2 separate regions of the Homo sapiens genome follow, and region 2 is linked to region 1. The links are contacts of gene promoters, found by promoter capture Hi-C in blood cells and fetal thymus (Javierre and others, 2016). All regions are on one chromosome and are shown on one strand. Each heading gives the region's core, a stretch centred on a gene start or on the middle of the fragment in contact. The rest is flanking DNA. Distances are from core to core; before and after follow the strand shown. Region 1 holds the start of NAA16 (N-alpha-acetyltransferase 16, NatA auxiliary subunit). Region 2 overlaps WBP4 (WW domain binding protein 4).

Region 1 (7,472 bases), core at 1,529-4,028:
CGTGGTAAGCAAACTGTGGCTAGCAATTATGGCAGTGGTTGAGTATGAGGGTGCTGAGAGGAGGCACTTCTGTGTGCTTGCTCAGTTCTCCGGGTGGGGGACTGCCACTAGTACAGGTGCGACTAAGGCAAGCTCCTAAAGCATCTATACTTGCCTACTTCCTAACAGCTTGGGCAGCTTGGGAGCTCTGCAGAGTACACATAGGCCCTTGAACCCCCACTTTTATTTTTTTCTTTCCATTTTTTATTTTAGACTCAAGGGGTAAATGTTCAGGTTTATTACACAGGTAAATTGCATGTTGTGGGGGTTTGGTGTACAGACAGTCTTGTCACCCAGGTAATCAGCATAATACCCTATAGGTAGTTTTTTAATCTTCACCCTCCTCCTACTCTCCACCCTCAAGTAGGCCTCAGTGTCTACTGTTCCCTTATTTGTGTCCATGGGTACTCAGTGTTTATAATTCCACCTGTAAGTGAAAACATGTGGTATTTGATTTTCTGTTCCTGCATTAATTCATTTTGGATAATGGCCTCCAGCTCTACCTGTGTTGCTGCAAAGGACATGGTCTCATTCTTTTTTGTGGCTGTGTAGTATTCCATGGTGTACCACATTTTCTTTATCCAGTCCACCGATGGGCATCTAGGTTACTTCCATGTCTTTTTATTGTGAATAGTGCTGCGATGAACATACACGTGCATGTGTCCTTTTTTTTTTTGAGGCAGTTTGTTGCCCAGGCTGGAGTGCAGTGGCATGATCTTGGCTCACTGCAACCTGTCTCCCAGGCTCAATTGATCCTCGCACCTCAGCATCCCAAGTAGCTGGGACTACAGGCACTCGCCACTATGCCCAGCTAGTGTGTGTGTGTGTGTGTGTGTGTGTGTGTGTGTGTGTGTGTTTGCCATGTTGCCCCGGCTGGTCTCCAACTCCTGAGCTCAGGGTGATCCGCCTGCCTCAGCCGCCCAAAGTGCTGGGATTACAGGCGTGAGTCACTGCACCTGGCTGTGCATGTGTCTTTACGGTAGAACAATTTATATTCTTTTGGGTATATACCCAGCAATGGGATTGCTGTGGACCCCCAATTTTAATGACAGTACTTTCCCTATTTTAAAGGACTCCTATGATGCTTTAAAATCATGTGTGAAACGTAGGAGATTGAAAGAAAAAAAAAGACTCCTATGATTCTTTCATGTCCAACCAACTTAGGCTAGAAAGAAGGAAAATCAAATAGGCAGGCACTGTGGCTCACACCTGTAATCCCAGCACTTTGGAAGGCCGAGGTGGGCAGATCACCTGAGGTCGGGAGTTTGAGACCAGCCTGACCAACATGGAGAAACCCCGTCTCTACTAAAAATACTAAATTAGCCAGGTGTGGTGGTGCATGCCTGTCATCCCTGCTACTTGGGAGGCTGAGGCAGGAGAATCGCTTGAACCTGGGAGGCGGAGGTTACAGGGAGCTGAGATAGCGCCATTGCATTCCAGCCTCGGCAACAAGAACAAAACATCGTCTCAAAAAAAGGAAAATAAAAAAGGGCAGCCCAGTTCTGATTACAGCCGACTAAATGCAGTTACTCATCAATTACTTTATAGTCTCAGAAATATGCACCCATTAAGATTCAGCACATGTATAAATAAACTTATGTACCTAATGTTTACACACACCTTACTACTAACCCTACACTGAATGTATGGTTTATTCTTGCCACTGTTGTATCTTTCTAGACTCACACATTACCATCAATATGCTGCCTTTTATTTGTTGTAGAGAGTATCCCAGAGTTGGAAGATCCTGAATTTGAAGCCTGTTTCTCCCATTATTATATGGCTTTCAGGAAGGGGAACCATCTGAAGAGAAAGGGTAGGTAGACTCAGAAGACCAGTGGCCTTATAAAACCGTAATTCCGGCCAGGTGTGGTGGCTCACGCCTGTAATCCCAGCACTTTCGGAGGTTGACGCGGGGGCGGATCACGAGGTCAAGAGATCAAGACCATCCTGGCCAACATGGTGAAAGCCTGTCTCTACTAAAAATACAAAATTAGCCGGGTGTGGTGGCGCATGCCTGTAATCCCAGCCACTCGGGAGGCTGAGGCAGGAGAATCCTTTGAACTCAGGAGGCGGAGGTTGCAGTGAGCCCAGATAGCGCCACTGCACTGCAGCCTGGGCGACAAGAGCGATACTCCATCTCAAAACCAACCAACCAAACAAAAACAAAGATTGTAAATGTTTGTTTGGTTTGCCCTGGAAAGAGAAGGCTTCTACTTAGAGTCTGAATCAAGGAGGAAAAGGAAAGAAAACAAGTTCATCTTTCATCAAAAGTCTACTTTGCATCGGACACTTAAATTCCTAAATGGGGAGAAATGCAAAAAACTCTGACTCTTCAGAGTCATAACTAACATTATCTTGCGCCACAAGCTTATCAAGAGTGCAATACAAGTCAGTGTCTTCTCTTTTCTACTTAAAAGAAAATTCTCGTTTTTATTTATTACTTTATTGCAAGGAGAAGCAGACAATAAGTAGGAGTCTTATGAGGCGTTCTGATGCATAGGAGCAATGGTGAATGAGGGTGGTGACTCACCACCCCATGGGACTCCAAGGTTTTGGTGACAGCTCGCCTGAGCCCCAGGGGGTGCCGAGATTGCGGCGAGGAGAGCCGCAGCACAAGGCAAATCCACGCGGTTGGTCCCCGCTACGCCCCCGTAGTCACCCGCAGCCCCTCGCCAAAGGGCGCTCCGCGCATGCGCACAGGATCCGGCTCGGGAGGCGGACCCTGGCTGCCATCTTGCAGTGCGCGGGAACCGCCGCCGCCGCCGCTGGCCAAAAAGCGGAGCCCAGGGGAAGCGTGTCCTGCTCAGACCGCCTTCCTTCTCCATTGCCACCCGTGCCGAACAGCCAGGCTGCCCAATTGCAACTGTAGACCAATGAACTAATCCATCGCCCGCAGCCCGACTCTCAGCAGCGGTTCGTCCCGGTGCCCACCCCCGCGAAGCGGAGCGCCCGGGCACCTAGCCTCCCTGCCGGCCACCTAGCCTCCCTGCCGGCCACGATGCCGAACGTGCTGCTGCCGCCCAAGGAGAGCAACCTCTTCAAACGCATCTTGGTGAGTGGCCGTAGGCCGCGCTGCCGCCCCCCGGTCCCCGGGTCCTCGGGCCTTAAGGGCAAGCGGTCTGGCGGCGGCCGGCGCGGGCCAGGCTTGGCCTCCGCTGCCCACCGCTCTTTGTTTACCTCGGAGGTCGCGGGACCCCACTTTCCCGCTCCGGCCGGCCCACGGGGGCTGCCGAGCCGCTCCTCCGTGCGCTTCCTTTCCGCGGTCTTCTGCGGCTCGCCTCACCCCCGCCGCGCTCTTTCCAGAAACTTCACGCCGCTCTCCGCAGTGCCCGGGCACAGCCGCCTCGGCCGGTAGTGGCTGCCGTGCTCTCTGCCGCGCCGGGCTCGCAGCAGCCCCTCAGGGATCCTCCCCCGGTGGTTTATTTTGCCAGTCTCTCCTCGGCTAGGTGTTTTGCGTTCTGCATTCTCTGCTTTGCGTTTAGTTAGATTGCACAGCACACCCGCATACCTATTAAAGCGGGATCGATGCGATGGTGGAATTTTTCCTGGTTACGAGGAAATAAAACCGGCAACTTTAGGAAGCCAGGCCTGGCACCACCTCCCTTTGGGAAAAAGTTTGCCTGTTTGTAATGTACCTTATTTACCTCTTTGGAAGTGAATATTTGACTTGAAGTGCGTTTCTGAGTTGTCACCAACTTCAAAACAGCTGTTTGCTTTTTAGTCGCACAGGCCTTGCTTGAGTAATTAAAGCCGCGTGGACTGGCTGGTTTTGCATTTGAGGGGAGCATTTTTACTTTATCGCGGAGCAGAAGCCTGAATAATGGCCCCGTAGTGATGACCGCTGCGGAGCCGGGTGGGCAGTTTTCTGTGGGCTGTGTGCCAGCGTCCCTGGTAGCTTTCCAGGTTCTGTTCTTCCAAGGAGAAGAGGCAGCATTCCTTTGCTTTCCTCAGTATCCTCTGGCTACCCTAGGTTTTAAACTAATATTGTTAGTAGGTAACTGTCTTTTCTAGTTTATCTTTTCACCTGAAAAAAAGCTTTTATTTGCTAAACATGCATTTAGGTTTAAAGGTGAATTTATTGAAAGCTGGGTTGGCTATATGGCTGTTAGTTGTTGCTTAACTTTACTATAAATAAAATACTAATTTTAGAGTAATTTTAAGTATGAACAGCGGCAGATAATTCATAGTAGCTGTTCTGTTTCAAGACGATAGAAACTTCACACTTAGTCTTCAGATTAGGATACATAGTAGATGGGATAAAAATTTTAAATATTATGTGGTGCTTAGTTTTGAACCAATAATAAGATACAAATGTGAGAACATTAAAAATACGAATAATTAAAGCACGTGGCAGGTTGCTTCATTGGGCTTTGTATTTTTTTATTTTACTTCTCATGCCCTTTTATTTTACACAGCATGGAATTGGAGAAGTAATTTATTTATTTTTATTTTTAATTTTTTTTTGCCCTGGGAATCTGAAACATTAATGATAATATCATTTATAAATCGCTAGTTGGATTTCAGGACATTTGGCATCATACTTTAAAGATGACAGCACTTCTTTTCTCTTTATACGAGTTTTTTGTAGTTCAAATCATGGATCAGTGTCATAAGGAAAAAGTTACATTATTATTCTTAAATTACAAAAAAGGTAGGGTTTATCCCCAAATAAATTGGGAAATGGTAACCACTAAAAAAAAATCAATTATTTTGAGATGGAAGTCTCGGTTTGTTGGCCAGGCTACTGTCGAATTCCTGGCTTGAAGCGATCTTCCCACCTCAGCCTCCCAAATTGCTGGGATTACAGATGTGAGCTACTGTGCTCAGCCAAGCTAAACATTTTTAAATCTAGGTATGTAATGTTTCTGACAAGGTTGCGTGAATTTAGGAGGATTCTGCATAAACGAATGATTTTATCATTTCACAATTGCAATAAATGTGGGTAAAATTTGGCTACAACAAATTCCATAGCAAACAGAAGTCTCTGTAATAAAATTATCTTTAAAGTTTAGTGGATTAAAGTGCTTTGCCACCAACAGTAAAATTTTTTCTATTGAAAAAATTCAAACACATCCACACAAACTGACCAGCTGGTTTTTTACGTGTTCCACGTGGCTTGTATCTGCATGTCTTATTCCCCAGACTGGATATTAATTAGCATTACAGTTTGTTGAATTTTGGAGGTATTCCATGCCCTCTTTTAGAAAGAGACAAACCTAAAGATGGTAAATGACCAAGTGGCTAAGGTTCTCTGTCTGGTTAGTAGCAAAGTTGAGACTAGAATCTATCATTTCTGCTTAGTATATAATGGTTCCTGAGTGAATGTAGATTTGTCTTTTTTTTTTTTTTGCGAGAGTGTATCGCTTTGTCGCCCAGGCTGGAGTGCAGTGGCAAGATCTCACTGCAACCTCTGCCTCCCAGATTCAAGCGATTCTCGTGCCTCAGCCTCCTGAGTAGCTGAGATTACAGGTTGACTTGTCTTTACCCGAGTACTTGGACTCTGGGGACAGACTACCTGGTTAAGAGTTGTGGCTCTGGCACTTAATAGTTATATAAACTCTATAACTATGCCTCAGTTTCTCTATCTAAATGGGGATATCATGCATCTCATAGGCTTTCCTGGGATTTAAATAAAGAGTAAATAAGCTGTCATGGGATGAAGGAAAAAAATAACAGTGTCTGGACGTATAGTAAATGCTTCCAATAGGTGTTAACTATTATTACTGTTATTGGCAGTATGATTATTATTATTTTCAGATAACCTGGTAAGTCAGAAAAACTAGTATTTCTATTTGTCTTTCTCAGTAGTTCCTTTCTCTTGTTTTTTTCTTGTCATTTGTGAGACAGACTTGTAGTCAAACTCAGATTGTCATTTTTTATTTTAAAATATTTTTGGAATAGGCAGTATATTCACATGGTTCAAAATTTAGGTTTCTCTCCTATCCTTATCGCAGAATCACCTAGTTCCCTTCCCCAGAGGCTGTCAAGAGGCCTCAATATAAACTTTTTTTCCATGAAGACTTTTCTAATTCCTTCCACATCCAGCCCCTGCTGCAAGGCTTAAAGATGGTCTCATCCATTGCTAGTGGCATTTTGCTTTGAACTTAGTAGGCTGTATTTATGGAGCAGTTTCTTATTTGTTTAGCCATGGCAATGCAGCAGTATGTAAAATAGGCTAAGGCCGGCGCAGTGGCTCATGCCTGTAATCCCAGCACTTTGGGAGGCTGAGGTGGGAGCTAGGATCACTTGAGCCCAGGAGCAAAAGACCAACATAGTGAGACTTCATCTCTACCAAAAATAAAAAAATAAAAAAAAATTTAGCCAGGCATGATGGCACACACCTGTAGTCCTTCCTATCCACTCAGGAGGCTAAGGTGGGAAGATCACTTGAGCTCAGCAGTTTGAGGTTATGGTGATTGTGTCACTGCACACCAGCTTGGGCAACAGAGTGAGACTGTCTCTAAAAAATAAATAAGAAAGATAGGTGAGATCATTGTTCTAAGGATCCATTATATGATGGTGGGGAAGACAGACACTAAATAATAGCATAAATAAGATTTCAGGAAATGATAGCACTGTGTGGAAAATAGAGTAACATGGTAGAGAATATGTTGGGGAAGGAAGGAGGATGGGAGTATTTGATAAAGTGGGCAAGTAGGGGACATGTGAGACTTGGATAATGAGGAACCATCCATGGGAAGATCTAGGAAAGCAATTCAGGCAGAAGGAACACAAGTGTAGGAGGCCTGAGGTGGGGATAAGCTTGGCATGTTGAGTAATTTAACACCCAGTGTGACTGAACAATGTAAGCCAGGGAAGAGTGGAAAGCAATGGGGTGTTCTTCGCATCAGTGGCTGCCAGGGAGAGATGTTAATTGTGTACCCTGGCTGGTGGCATTCGGAAATAAAGATGTTGCTTATCCTTGCATTGGACTAATGATGGTCTTTGGAGTAAGATCAGAGTTTGCAGCTAAGCTGAGCAGCTTATAAACAAGTTTTTGAACCTCTGGAGTTTCAGTTTCCACATCTCTGAAGTGGAAGTAATGACACCTACATTAAAGAATTGGTATTAAGTAAGAGATTACAAATTTTTTACAGACATATCATAGCTGCTCAATAAGTGGTAGTATTTGTGTGTGTGTGTGTATGCGTGCACACACCCATGCACTTTGGTTTCATTCTTGCGGTAGCAAAGGCTTTTAGTGCAGTTTCTGGTATTTTTCTGTTGCCACATATGTTTTTGCTTAAATTTTTTTTTTGAGATGGTGTCTTGCTCTACTGCCCAGGCTGAGTGCAGTGGCACAGTCATGCCTTACTGCAGCCTCAGCCTCGTGGGCTCAAGTGATCCTCCCACCTCAGCCTCCCAAGCAGTTAGGACCACAGATGTGCACCACCACGCCTGAGGAATTTTTAATTTTTTTGTAGAGATGA
Region 2 (7,190 bases), core at 3,549-6,048, 240 kb before region 1:
AAAGAAAAGAGTTTTTAAAAACTCACTAACTGTTAAGATTTTTTGCAGACCTCTTCTTTAGATCTTTTTTTAAATTACATATTTTGTGCTGCGGTCTATTTGCCGGTTGTTTTATTTTTTCCCTCAGTGATATATCAAATGTATCTTTTCTTTTAATTAGGGAGATGTATCATTTTTATATGGTAGGAGCAGACTTTGGAGTCAAGCAGAATTTCCTCTTGCTAGTTATGACTTTTGATTTTTATTAAAACTAAGTAACATTATGGTATAAATTGCTTATTACGTGACCACACATAACAAATGGTGAATAAATGGTAGCCACTGTTATTTTGTCTCTGTACTATAATTTATTTAATCTTTTCCTGGTTAACATTTAGGTTGCTTAGCATTTTTCACTGTCGTAAAGAGTGCGGCATTAAGCATCTTTATGCATGTATCTTTTTACACTTATTTTTCTCTGTAGGTTCAGTTTCTGGAAGTTACAGTATAAAAGTGTGAATATATTTTATATTGATAGCTAATACCACATTGTCTCCAGAAATGGACTGATGTACATTTTCATTAGAACAAAAATAAGTTTATTAACCCGTTTTAGGAGTAACTAGCCAATCCTTTGGAAAGTAAAGCCATAAAAACTATTTTTCTCTTTTTTTGAAGACAGGTCTCGCTCTGTCACCTGGTTGGAGTGCAGTGGCAAAATCATGGCTCACTGTAGCCTCGACCTCCCGGGCTCCAGTGATCCTCCCACCTCAGCTCGTCACCAGTCCCAGCGATTTTTTGGTAGAGACGGGGTCTTGCCATGTTGCCCAGGCTGATCTGGAACTCCTGGCCTCAAGCAATCCACCTGCCTGGGCTTCCCAAAGTGCTGGGATTACAAGCGTGAGCCACTGTCCCCCACCAAAACTACCCATTTTTTCAAAGCAATGTAAATACCTGATCTATCAAACTAATACTGGATTTGGTCATTCTTTTCACTACTTATTGATCTTCTGCAAAACAACAACAAAACATTTCTTTGAATATTAGCAAAAGTAAATGTTAATTGGCCAGGTGCCGTGGCTCATGCCTGTAATCCCAGCAGTTTAGGAGGCCGGAGTGGGAGGATTGTTTGAGCCCAGGAGTTCAAGACCAACCTAGCAAGATGGTGAGACCCCACCTCTACTACAATATAAAAATAAAAAATTAACTGGGCTTGGTGGTGCGCACCTGTAGTCCCAGCTACTTGGGATGCTAAAGTGGGAGGATTGCTTGAGCTGAGAAGTTCAAGGCTACTAATGTGGGCTATGATTGCACCACTGCACTCCAGCCTGGACAACATAAGAGAAAAAAAAGTAAATGTTAATTATCTGAATTGTCTTTGTAATTGTTGTCCATTTTTCTATTAGAATGTTTGATTTGTAAAGGATCTTTGTTAGGAATATTAACCCTTTGCCATATTTATTGTAAATATTTTTTCATTTGTCTTATATATGTTTTTTCTTTTTATTTTTGTCATACAGAATATCTTAATTTTTATGTAGTCAAATTTAACATTATTTTACTTTGTGTTCTTTTTGTAACTATCTTTGACCTAGTATTTAATAAAAAGGGGGGAAGGGAGCAGGTAGTGGGGAACAGCTTTACTTTTTTCCCAAATAATTAATCAGTTAATCTAAAAACTTTCTTTTTAAGCATGCTTTCTTTATTTCCTTTTTTTAATATATATATAGATGTAGGGGGTACAAGTGCAGATTTCTCATATGCATATATTGCATAGTGATGGAATCTGGACTTTTAGTATACCCATTGCCCAAATAGTGAACGTTGTACCCAGTAGGTAATTTGAAAACCTCTTTTTTTAATGATCTGTCTTTTATCCTCTGATATGAAATACCAGCCAACCTGAAGTTGGCTCTGTATCTGGACTATTTTGTTTCAATTATATGCTTGCCTATTTCTATGTCAGTTCCACACTGCTGGCTGTTTTTTTAACCCATAGTTTTAGAATAAGTTTTAACACCTGGTAGAACTAAATTCTCCTTTTTCTTTTTATTACAGTTTTCCTTCCCTTACATGTTTATTTTTCCGAATGAACTTTATAATAATGTGTTAAGTTCTCAAAAGAACCTTATCAGGTTTTTGATTGGAATAACATTAATGTTTTATGCCAGCAACCATAAAAAATAGTAGTTACTATAGCTGCTTTACCCTTCTCTCATCTCTTTAGAAATTTTGGAGCCAAGCATAACACCAGTAACCAGCACTATCCCACCTACCTCGACATCAAATCAACAGAAAGAAAAGAAAGAAAAGAAGAAAAGAAAAAAAGATCCTTCAAAGGGCAGATGGGTAGAAGGCATAACCTCTGAGGGTTACCATTACTATTATGATCTTATCTCAGGAGGTAAGTCATTTAGGCATAAAACTGGTAAAGAACAGTGTCACTAGTAGAATAGAACAATTTATTTTATGTTAGGATTTTTATCTAATGTTGGAGCACTTTAAATAGTGAAAGACCGGTTTTTCATTTTTGCCCCAAAGGTAAGAAAACTGTGTGCCCTTTAAAAAGGTACCCTTCTCATAGTGACTAAGTGTCATACTTAGTCAAAGCCTTTGATAATGACTTTCTTACAAATAAACTATAGCTTTATATTTTCTCAATAGAAACTTCTGTAAGTATAAACTACATGGAAATAAAGAATTTTGCATAGAAATAAGGAATTTCAAATCCACTTCACAAATTGTAGGGGTACTTGAAATAAAATATTCTACAGTAGAGATTTTCTTCTGGGAGCCAGTAACTGATTTCTTTTTTCTGTAGCTGCCTTGATTGATTTGATATTGTTACTGAAAAATGACATTGTGTATTTTACTGGAAACTGATACCCAACAGAAAAATACACAGTGCCATGGCCAGATGCAGTGGCTCATGCCTGTAATCCTAGCACTTTTGAGGGGCCGAGGAGGGTAGATCACTTGAGGTCAGGAGTTCAAGACCAGCCTGACCAACATGGTGAAACCCCATCTGTACTAAAAATACAAAATTAGGCTAGGCGCGGTGGCTCACACCTGTAATCCCAGCACTTTGGGAGGCTGAGATGGGCAGATCACAAGGTCAGGAGATCAAAACCATCCTAGCTAACATGGTGAAACCCCGTCTCTACTGAAAAAACAAAAAATTAGCCAGGCATGATGGTGGGCACCTGTAGTCCCAGCTACTTGGGAGGCTGAGGCAGGAGAATGGCGTGAACCCAGGAGGCGGAGCTTGCAGTGAGCCGAGATTGGGCCACTGAACCCAGGAAGCGGAGCTTGCGGTGAGCGTAGATTGGGCCACTGTACTCCAGCCTGGGCGACAGAGCGAGACTCTGCCTCAAAAAAAAAAAAAAAAAAAAAAAGTAGCCAAGCGAGGTGGCTCATGCCTGTAATCCCAGCTACCTGGGAGGCTGAGGCAGGAGAATCAATTGAACCCAGGAGATGGAGTTTGCAGTGAGCCCAGATCGCGCCATTTCACTCCTGCCTGGGCAACAAGAGCGAAAGTCCATCTCAAAAAAAAAAAAAAGAAAAAAAAAATACACAGTGTCGTTTTACAGTAACAATATCAAAAACATCTTTTTTTGTTTTTCCTAAAAACTAAATGTATTTGGGGTTTTTACTCCGTATACATTTTGGAATAAATTAATACATTTATTCTACATTTATGTAGCATCTTACTCTCCAGAGTCATAAAATTTAGCGACAAATAAATAAGCTTGATAAAAGGAGGAATTTTAAAGTGCTATAATAGAAGTGTAATTAAGATTATATGGGAACTCATAATAATGTTGAATTCATTGTGATTATGTAGCTTTGAGAGATTACCATAGGAATTACTTTTGAGCTGATCTCTAAATTAAGATAGGGACATCAGGAATGATGCCTTACTCACCATTGTATTCCTGGCGCCTAACATAGTGCCTAGCACAGTGTAGACACTCTGTGTTTTGATTAAAGAAGACTTCAGTAGATAATTAAGAGGTACAGAATCCACACAGAACAATATGAACCCCAAAAAAGGTTTGAAAGTATTGGGAAATAGTGGTCGAGGTAAAACATGCAGTTCTTTGAAGACGTCTTAGTAGAGTTAGACTGGAAGGTAGATTGGAGCCATCTTATGGAGGGCTGAGAGAATGATGGTGCCATTTACTTAGATACGAGATAAGGAACTGAAAATAAGTTTAATGGGGACAATAATGAATTAGATACGTTGAATATGAGGTACCTACAGAATATTCATATGACAGCTTTTGGTAGCTAATTGATGGTTACAGTGTGGAGCTGAGCAAAATTGAGTCTGGGGATGTAGATAATATGTTAGCCTTTAGGAGTATATGAGATCGCAAGCAGAGAGAATAGAGCAAGAAGTAAAGAAGGTGAGTGTTACATATATTAAAGGAATGGATAGAAGAAAAGCCAGCAAAAGAAGGTTAAGAATGCTAGGAAGGTAGGAAATAAGATCAGAGAGTTAATCATGAAGAAATCCTTGGGCTAACAATCTTACTGTAATGACTATTATCATTAGGATCATAATTACCTTTGGACTATGTAGAAATATTAATCCGTTAGAGTTTGCACTGAGCTTTAAGTGACATGCATATTGTAGTTTAGCAATGAAGATATCATAAATGATTATGTACTAGCAATTAGAAGTCTTTCTCAAATTTACTTATAAACTGTTATTTCATTTCTCCCTTCCAATGCTTATTGCTTGCCTCTCTTTTTCAGCATCCTACTTTATATACTCTTCCTCTCCATGATACATGTTTTTAATTTCTGCATACTAGTTGTTCCTCTTCTGAGTTCTTATTCAGTTTATCTCTCACTCTCCCTTGCCCCAAGATATCAAAAGGCCTTTGAAACTTATCAGACCTGAATTCTGTGAAACCTTTATGAGAAGCCCTGCCTGGCTCTAAAATTCCTGTGGAAGTTCCAGTAACTTCTAATCCCTCGTTCTGTCCTTTCTTCTTGGTTACGTAGCATTCACATATATTGTCTGCACAGTACTGGGATGTATGTTCTGTTTTATTTTTCAAATATGTTTTAAATTGTAGACCTGTAGTGTTTTGTACATAATGACTGTAAATTTTGTCCAAATTTTTTGGAAAGTATTTTTTTAAAGCAAAAAGATTTTATAAATGCAATATATTTTGCTTTAAGCATCTCAGTGGGAGAAACCTGAAGGATTTCAAGGAGACTTAAAAAAGGTAATTGAAGCATATTAATAGTGTTTTTGTTTTATTCTTTACAGTGATTCGTTTCTTAGGTTTTTGTAGAGTTTTGCTAAGCAACTTTATTTACAAATACTCCACTCCCTCCACCCCCAAACTGTGTCCTTTTTTTTCCCATAATGCTTTTGTTAGAAGGCTGGATGGAGATGAAATAGTGATATCTGGCTGGGTGCAGTGGCTCATGCCTGTAATCCCAGCACTTTGGGAGGCTGAGGCATGTGGATCACAAGGTCAGGAGTTAAAGACCAGCCTGGCCAAGATGGTGAAACCCTATCTCTCCTAAAAACTACAAAAAAATTAGCCAGGCGCAGTCGCAGTTGCCTGTAATCCCAGCTACTCAGGAGGCTGAGTCAGGGGAATCACTGGGACCTGGGGCGGCAGAGGTTAACAGTGAGCCGAGATTGCACCACCGCACTCCAGCCTGGATAACAAAGTAAGACTCCGTCTCAAAAAAAAAAAAAAAAAAAAAAGTACTGATATCTATCCAAAAACTGCATTCAGGGCAAATATTAGTTGGTTTGCCGTCAGTTGCCATTCACATGTTCCTGTCCATTTGGAAGGAATTGTTCCTGGCTTTCAAAGGTGAGACATCCACTGCTTGAAAGTTGGTTCTTTATTAGCAAAAACCAAGCTTCCTGGCCATGATTAGTACTACCACCCCTAATACCCAGGTGTATTAGTCAGTTCTTGCATTGCTATAAAGAAATACTTCTGAAACTAGGTAATTTATCAAGAAAAGAGGTTTAATTGACTCACAGTTATGCAGGCTGTACAGGAAGCATGGTGGCATGAGCTTCTGGAGAGGCTTCAGGAAACTTACAATCATAGCAGAAGGCCAAGGGAAAACAGTCACATCTTACATGGCCAGACCAGGAGCAAAGGGAGGTGCCACACACTTTTCAATGACCAGATCTCAGGGTAGCTTGCTCACTATTTCAACAACAGCACCAAAGGTGGATGGTGTTGAAACCATGAGAAACCACCCCTGTGATGCAGTCACCTCCCACAAGGCCCCATCTCCAACTTGGAGGATTACAAGTCTACATGAGATTTGGGTGGGGATGCAGATCGAGATGATATCACCAGGTGTCAGGAGGAGAGGCAAGGGTGGCTGACTGTCTGAGTTATTCAATAGAAAATCATGGTTATCCTTAGTTTATGCTGGGTTTTTTTCCTCCTATTAGACAGCAGTGAAGACCGTTTGGGTAGAAGGTTTAAGTGAAGATGGTTTTACCTATTACTATAATACAGAAACAGGAGGTAAGTATTACCTTTGATTATCTTAACTGTTTAAAATTGTACCTGGAACTGCTTATTGGCCTGCTGATTAATCATCTGAACTTGGAAATTTTAGTATACAATAAACATATTTGTGTAGTAAACATGAATTATTTTTTGTAATTTAAAAACAATACAGTGGAAAAGCAAAAAGATTTATATTCGTATTATGTTGTGCTGTTCACCAATGTTATTCTCAGTTGATATTGCATTCACAAACTTAAAAATAGAATCATTTTAGCTTTCTCTGACATTACTATTTTTATAATTATTTTAGAAATATAGTCATTACCTTGGAAGGTAGCTTAGAGATCATCTGGCTCAACTTGCCTTTTCCTTTTTAAAAATAAAACTGTGGCCGGGCACAGTGGCACATGCCTGTAATCCCAGCAGTTTGGGAGGCCAAGACAGGTGGATCACCTGAGGTCAGGAGTTAAGCGACCAACCTGACCAACATGGTGAAACCCTGTCTCTGTTAAATACAAACAAATTAGCCGGGTGTGGTGGCACATGCCTGTAATCCAAGCTACTTGGGAGGCTGAGACAGGAGAATCTTGTACCTGGGAGGCGGAGGTTGCAGTGACCCGAGATCGTGCCATTGCACTCCAGCCTGGGCAACAAGAGCAAAACTCTGTCTCAAAAAAAAAAAAAAAAGTAGGCTAGGCGCGG

The links. The method cuts DNA at HindIII sites, captures the fragments that hold promoters and counts their contacts. A CHiCAGO score of 5 or more calls a contact.
Region 2: a fragment that was not itself captured here is called in contact with the fragment with the promoter of NAA16 in region 1 in 2 of 17 cell types (erythroblasts and megakaryocytes); the score reaches 6.5 in erythroblasts.

What each region holds. Positions count from the first base shown.
Region 1 is chr13:41,308,489-41,315,960 of GRCh38, forward strand. It overlaps NAA16 (N-alpha-acetyltransferase 16, NatA auxiliary subunit), which reads left to right and starts at 2,779. Exons shown (of 20, transcript NM_024561.5): 1 at 2,779-3,094. The coding sequence starts at 3,041. It also overlaps a transcript of MTRF1 not described here. The HindIII fragment of the contact is 1,668 bases long and covers 2,408-4,075 here.
Region 2 is chr13:41,066,355-41,073,544 of GRCh38, forward strand. It overlaps WBP4 (WW domain binding protein 4), which reads left to right. Exons shown (of 10, transcript NM_007187.5): 5 at 2,207-2,383; 6 at 5,173-5,219; 7 at 6,428-6,503. Among named protein-coding and RNA genes, the nearest start is that of WBP4, 8.4 kb to the left of the region's middle. The HindIII fragment of the contact is 2,147 bases long and covers 3,726-5,872 here.